Linked DNA regions of Homo sapiens: region 1 is linked to region 2. The links are contacts of gene promoters, found by promoter capture Hi-C in blood cells and fetal thymus (Javierre and others, 2016). All regions are on one chromosome and are shown on one strand. The core of a region is centred on a gene start or on the middle of the fragment in contact, and the rest is flanking DNA. Distances in the headings are between cores, read along the strand shown. Region 1 overlaps LIFR-AS1 (LIFR antisense RNA 1). Region 2 holds the start of EGFLAM-AS5 (EGFLAM antisense RNA 5).

Region 1 (3,091 bases), core at 382-2,881, 190 kb before region 2:
ACAGCAGCTGCCTGAGATCCCCATAGGACATTCTGAGGCAATTAGTGACCATCTCCTGGAGTAGTCATCGGAATCCACTTCACAAACCATCAACTACAGCGAGCAAAACTGACTCTAGCTGATGCCATCTGAGATTCAGCTCATTGTTTGCACTAAGCTCACACTTTCTCTAAGCTATTCACACCAATGACTCTACTTGGCAGGGATGACAAGGTAGGCTTGCCTGTTCCTGGCTGACATAGGCCTCTTCTGACAGCTGACTTTTACTCAAGGACTGCCTGATGGTCTGAGTGAGTCTTTATAGGCTTCAAGGCCATCTCAGGAGCTTCCAACAATCTTCTTTCCCTGCTAAGCTTGCATTGCAGTCGATGGCTCTCCCAGCCTATTCAGTCCTTGCATGTTTAATCTCATTTTAGGATCTGCTTCTTAGAGGTCCCAAATTAACACAACTTCTTACCCATCTCCTTTAGAGAGCAGCACCTCCAATAACAGCAAGACCTTCCAGCCATGCTTTTCTGGGACTTACAGATCTTGAGACAAGAAAGGATGAAAAAAACAACATTCAAACCACCCATATTGGCTGGGTGCAGTGGCTGACACCTATAATCCCAGCACTTTGGGAGGCTGAGGTGGGCAAATCTCCTGAGGTCAGGAGTTCGAGACCAGCCTGGCCAACATGGTGAAACCTCATTTCTACTAAAAATACAAAAATTAGCTGGGCATGATGGCGGGCGCCTGTAATCCCACCTACTTGGGAGGCTGAGGCTGGAGAATCGCTTGAACCCAGGAGGCAGAGGTTGCAGCGAGTGGAGATGGTGCCATTGCACTCCAGCCTGGGTGACAAGAGTGAAACTCCATCTCAAAACAAACAACAAACCACCCATATCTAGTGAACGTACATATAAGTGGACCATACACAATACATTTTTTTTTTTTTTTGAGATGGAGTCTTGCTCTGTAGCCAGGCTGTAGTGCAGTGGCATGATCTTGGCTCACTGCAACCTCTGCCTCTCCAGTTCAAGCGATTCTCCTGCCTCAGCCTCCCAAGTAGCTGGGATTTCAGGCGCGCCACCATTCCCAGCTAATTTTTGTATTTTTAGTAGAGACGGGGTTTCACCATGTTGGCCAGGATGGTCTCGATCTCTTGACCTCATGATCCGCCTGCCTCGGCCTCCCAAAGTGCTGGGATTACAGGCGTGAGCCACCACAACATGTTTCCAAAAATGCCCTTCAAAAGTAAGGAAACAACTCAACAACATGCTGGGGTTTGTCAGTCCTTTGTCCTGCTAAATTTCTTTTGGACTTTGAAGGGCATCTTAAATAGTGACAAGTCCTTTGGTTACCTCAGCAAGGCCCAGGTGTTGCACATGTAAGGCCAGGGCCACCTCAGCATTTAATTCCAGGCTGCAAATACTCTTGGCTTTGTGGTCTTCTCCTCCTTCACAGGGTCAGAAGCCAAAAAGCAATGTTTCATATTACAAACAGAAGGAAGGAAACTAGCTGAGGGAATGAACAAAGCATCTATTTTGAAGTGGGGTTGCCAAGGCTGTGCCATGGAAGAGGAAGATGAAGTTCATGGCTTCACGAACATTCTTGGATCAAATAGTCCATCAGAAGAATGATCTCATTTGCATATGTATACCATTTATTATCATTTGATATTCATATATGCACATATAAATGAAGTCATTTTAATCTAGGAAATGATTTATCTGTCATTCTAATCAGAGGGTGTTTATTATTATTGAAAATAGCTACAGCATTTATTAAATACTTACTTGCTATTGCCAAACATTATGTTAAGCACTTCACATACACTTTCATTTAATTTTCAACTTATAAAAGAGGAAATTACGTGCTGTGGTAGGATTCTGTAAACTAAAGACACAATTTTATCCCCTCAGAATTTTTTTCTAACTTGATTTATTTTTAATCATTGAATCAGTTGCCAGACCAACTAATCATAAGGTTCTAAGAAGGGAGCTGCATGCGCCACTTCCAGAATAACCAAGGCAGGGAGAGTGTAAGCCCTTGTTCTAGGTCACACCATGAGCAAGGGCAGAAACAAGATTCAAACTTAAGATTGTTCAGCTCCAAAGATTTCTTTCTGTTCCTTAGAACAACAGTGAGCACTTAACAGTAGAGTTAAATGCTTTAATAACAAAGTCCATGATTAAAGAAATTATTGTGCAAATGAATACAGAAATGGAACTTTGGATTTGAATCTCAGCTCTGGCTCAGATGTTAAATAACCTTGACAAACTGAACTTTCTCTTGGGAAAAATGAGCCTATCTTCAGGAAGGTACGAAAGGGCTAATGATCCTGAAAAAGCCCTGCCTCTCCCAGAAGCAATAAGAGGAATAACAAAGAATAATGAAACACTATATCAATATAGTGTGCAATGGAATTGCTTAAATCATACACAACATTTTAGCTTCTTATAACATTAGGAATCATATTATCACGGTTGAGTTATGTTTTCCTCACTTCCTTGTGGCCGCAGAAATTCCAAGTTGCAAAATGAACTTTAAAAAAAAAAATCCTTTACTTCTTTGAAAATTATTCACTCCTTTCCGCCTGTTTGCTCCCTGAGAAATATTTTTGAACAGTGTTTGCTACCCCCTATTTATAGCTTTCCAGTTTTGGCAGGTATGGGAAAGTTTATAAGTGGTTTGTTTTCTTTGCTATAGCCAGTGTTGATTTAGGTCCCTTTAGCCACTGAAACAATTGGAAGCACTTTCAAGGAAGGCAAAGTCTGTTGACGACTGATAACATTGTAAAATCCAGATAGTCCGAATCAGGATTTCTTTGGGGGGCTCAGATCAGTTAGAAAATCTTAGCAGTGCCATGATTTGAATAATTATCTTTACTTCTTTTTTTGTGTATGGCTGTTGTGGAGGAAGCTTGCCCTTGACATCAGTAGGAAAAGCATCTCCTGAACATTGTCAGAGTCATTGGTGACTCTGAGTTTGATGCTGACTTGGACAACTAGGTAAGAAAACGTGCCTGCAGTGCTCTGTATCTGAGCTGTAAAGATCTACCTTATGAACCTATGTCTAACATCTAGTTTTTCACCAATTTTTCATGCTG
Region 2 (3,340 bases), core at 50-2,549:
ACGCACTGAGCCTTGCGACCCCTGCGGCCCCATACCCCTCTCCTCCCACAGCTCTCTCTGCCTCATAGTCCATTTTCTCTGCCTCCGCTTTCTTTTGGCCAATTTCCTAACAGGGCTTTCCTTAGCTAAGCCCCTGGCCTGGTGCCTCTTACTTTTGTTATTAAGTGAGTATAAACGGCAAATTTCTTGAGCCTCCCTGGCCTTCCTTCGAAGAGACATTCCAACTCAAGTCCTCTCCTAGCCAAGTCAGAACTGCAGCCCCTTGGCAGCAGGCTGTTCGGGGAGGTCATAGCCCCGGGCTGGGCCCTGGCTTGTAGGTGAGCAGCTGGGACATCGGGGGAGGCCATGCCACATGCTGGGAAATTTCTATGCCTCTGGACACCATTTGCATCTTGAGCAAAACTGAAAGACAAGATGGATAAATAGAAAAGAAGAGACATCCTCCCAGGGGCTGAGACATAATGTTCTCTCTCCCGTCTTTCCAGGAAATGGCAAGTGCTCCTGGGAGCTACGAACTTTCTAGGACAAAGATGCCTCAGCAAGAGCAAGCGGGAAGAAGAGGAGCGGCAGGGGAGGCCTTTCCCAGCTGCCTTCCCTGTTCTTTCAGCTCGTGGCTTGGCTGGGGCGAGGCAGGGGCCCAGGGGAACACGCTGCTGGGCAGAAATAGCTTGCAACCACTCCCCAGGGTTATGGAGGTTATTTGTGGAGATGAAAGCAAAGGAGGGAAGGGAAAAGAATTTAACCTACACCCAGTTGCCCGTAGAGGGGCCTGAATCCCACCCTGCTGGACTAGCTCTTTAGTTTCTGCTTTCAGATTTGCTCAACCCAGAGTCCCTGCAACAGAAGGCCTTTGAAAGAAGGCAGATTCAGGGCTGTGATGAGAAACTGGCATGCGTTGGCAAGCAGACTCTTGGGACATGGCCTTTGTCCGAATCTCCCTCACTTACACGACTATACTGCAGACGACAGCTAACCCAAGGGAGCCTCAGAATGTCCCTCAACAATGCGGGTGTCCCTGGGCAGACTGCACCTGACCAGAGGTCAGGGTGAGGGCAGAAAAGCTCCACGGGACAGCATCGTGGCTGCGTCCTCGTGATGGGACCATGGGCAAGTCACCCAGTCTTTGTGGCCAGTGTCTGTCTTCCTAAGTCAAATAGGCCATGCCCATCTGCTCCAGCCATCATAGGAGGAGGACTGTTATGAAGATCAAATATGTGAACATTCTTTGACTGTGAGGTTGCGGTGCGGTTACTCACAGGGCCTAGCCCAGAAGCCAGCTGATGCTGTTGCATTGGATTAGTCATTTTGCTGGCCCGAACATAGCCACCTGTAAGCTGGAACTTCCTTACGGCAGCCTGTCACTTCCACGGGACCCACCAGCTTAAATGCCGGCAGCCCTGGGACTTCTGGCCTCACAATGGTTGAGGTAGGGCTGCTTACATTTCCCTTCTCTGTTTAGCGTGTGCCGGATAAGTCCCTAGTTCGGATACCGTCGGACGACCCACATCTCCATGTTGACAAATAACGTGGGAGTGGGCTAAAGCTGTACGACCCCTGATTTCAGATTCTAATTTTGATTCCATGCTGGCAGCTCTCTCCCCACTGCAGGGAGAAAGTGCTGGAGAACGTCGTTCCCGCCTTTGATAAGCTAATCTTACCCCCTTCTCAGCTAAGGGTCTGGGCGGTGGTGGGCACGCCCGGACTGACCCCCAGCTCCAAGGGCAACTACTATGCGTTCCTGGACTGGGCAGGAGCTGGAAGAGGCAGGGAGGAGGTGGGAAGCGGCTCATGCCTTGTCCAGGCTCCTCTCCTAAAGTATTGTCTTTCCGCTTGGAGCTGGAATTCTCTGCCTTTATTTTCTCGGAGCTGGGCCTCTGCAGGCTGCCCCTCGGTCATTCCCTCCCAGGAAGAACGGCCTTCTGGGGTGGGGGTTGCTGTCGGAGCTCAGAGAGGCTGGGGGCCCCCCTACTGCCTATTCTTCCTCCTTTGGGAACTCACAGTGCTAAAAACAAGCTTTCTGAGAACCATATTTTTCTGGGTTAAAGGTGAAAAATGCAGCGTTTCCTCCAAGTGGAAAGCCCTGGGCCTGCCAGCTCCAACTCCGGGCGCTTTTCCGAGCTCCTTCCTCCCACGCAGGGAGGGGGTAGCAGCTCCTGCAGGGCCAGGGGAGGAGGTGGGCAGGGAGGAAGGAGAGGGGGCAGCAGCAGGAAAGCGCCAGTGCCCGTGCCAGCAGGGCAGTCTGTGTGTGGACACCAGCCGGCCTGTTTGTGTTGGAGGGCCGGGAGAAGGGAGCAGGACTGGGTCAGGAAATGAAAGACAAATACCAGGGTGGGAGAGTGGCACGGCCTTCAGAGCGGCGGGCAGGCCGGGGCAGCTGCCTGGGCAGCCGCAGAAGGGGGACACAGAAGACCCCCACAGACCTTCCTGAGAGAAATCCTGAGGTGGGGCCTCCAGGAACATGCAGGGTTATGGGAGGCCATCTTAATAGGAAAAGCAAGGACATCCTCACCCCACACCCGGTCACCCTTGCTTCGAACATGTGGGAGGTTCCGGGGAATTTCCTCAGACCCTGATTGTGGGAGAAAAGCTTTTCAGGATCCCGTGCCCCACTCCATCCTTCCTCCCTAGGACAGGGACTGCTGTTAGCCTCTGAGCTCCCTGGCGACACCCCAAACCTTTCTCTTCAGCCAAGAGCCTGGCCAGCCTTCAACATGCTCTCCCCACAGCGGCTACCCAAAAGCCAGGCACAGATCCCATCTTCCAGCCGGTCCAGTCCCTCCTCCTCAGAACAGCAACGGGGCCAGCTGCCAAGTGTCAGGGAGCATGTGGAAGGAGGGCAAGGGGAAGAGAGGGCACCGCATTGCGATGGGGGAGGGCGGGTGCTGCTCGCATCAGGCCTGGCCTGGCTGGGCACTGAGAACATCATGGACCTCGCCTCCAGCCCCAAGGGTTAAAGAAGGTCGGAGAAGACCTATGGCCAGGGGGTCACGGCCTCCCTACTGCACCCTGCTGTGAATGACGTAGGACTTGCTGGGGTAGACCGATTGCATCAGCAGTGACGCTTTTCCACTGCTCCTGAGTCCATGCCCTCCACCGGGCAGCTTGGTAGTTCTCTCATGCTGGAGAAGAGCCCATATGTCACGTGGGGGCCGGCCCGTTTCTTCCTCTCTTGAATCCACAGATGACTGGGGTGTGGCAGTGCCAAGCCGAGGCTGTGAAAGGCCTTCCACCTTTACTCTCGTGCTCGTGCCCTCCCCCATTGTTAGGAGAAGGGCATGCTCAGGCCAGCCCATTAGCCCAGGAGGAGGACAAGAAACACACGGAGCAGACACAAGCCACC

What was found. The method cuts DNA at HindIII sites, captures the fragments that hold promoters and counts their contacts. A CHiCAGO score of 5 or more calls a contact.
Region 1: a contact is called between a fragment that was not itself captured here and the fragment with the promoter of EGFLAM-AS5 in region 2, in 1 of 17 cell types (endothelial precursors). The highest score is 5.0, in endothelial precursors.

What each region holds. Positions count from the first base shown.
Region 1 is chr5:38,661,879-38,664,969 of GRCh38, reverse strand. The region is part of intron 8 of LIFR-AS1 (LIFR antisense RNA 1); the gene reads right to left. Among named protein-coding and RNA genes, the nearest start is that of LINC01265, 57 kb to the left of the region's middle. The HindIII fragment of the contact is 2,551 bases long and covers 356-2,906 here.
Region 2 is chr5:38,466,325-38,469,664 of GRCh38, reverse strand. EGFLAM-AS5 (EGFLAM antisense RNA 5) reads left to right here and starts at 1,299. Exons shown (of 2, transcript NR_199676.1): 1 at 1,299-1,426. RefSeq lists enhancers at 1-832, 2,200-3,340. The HindIII fragment of the contact is 4,194 bases long and covers 1-2,015 here.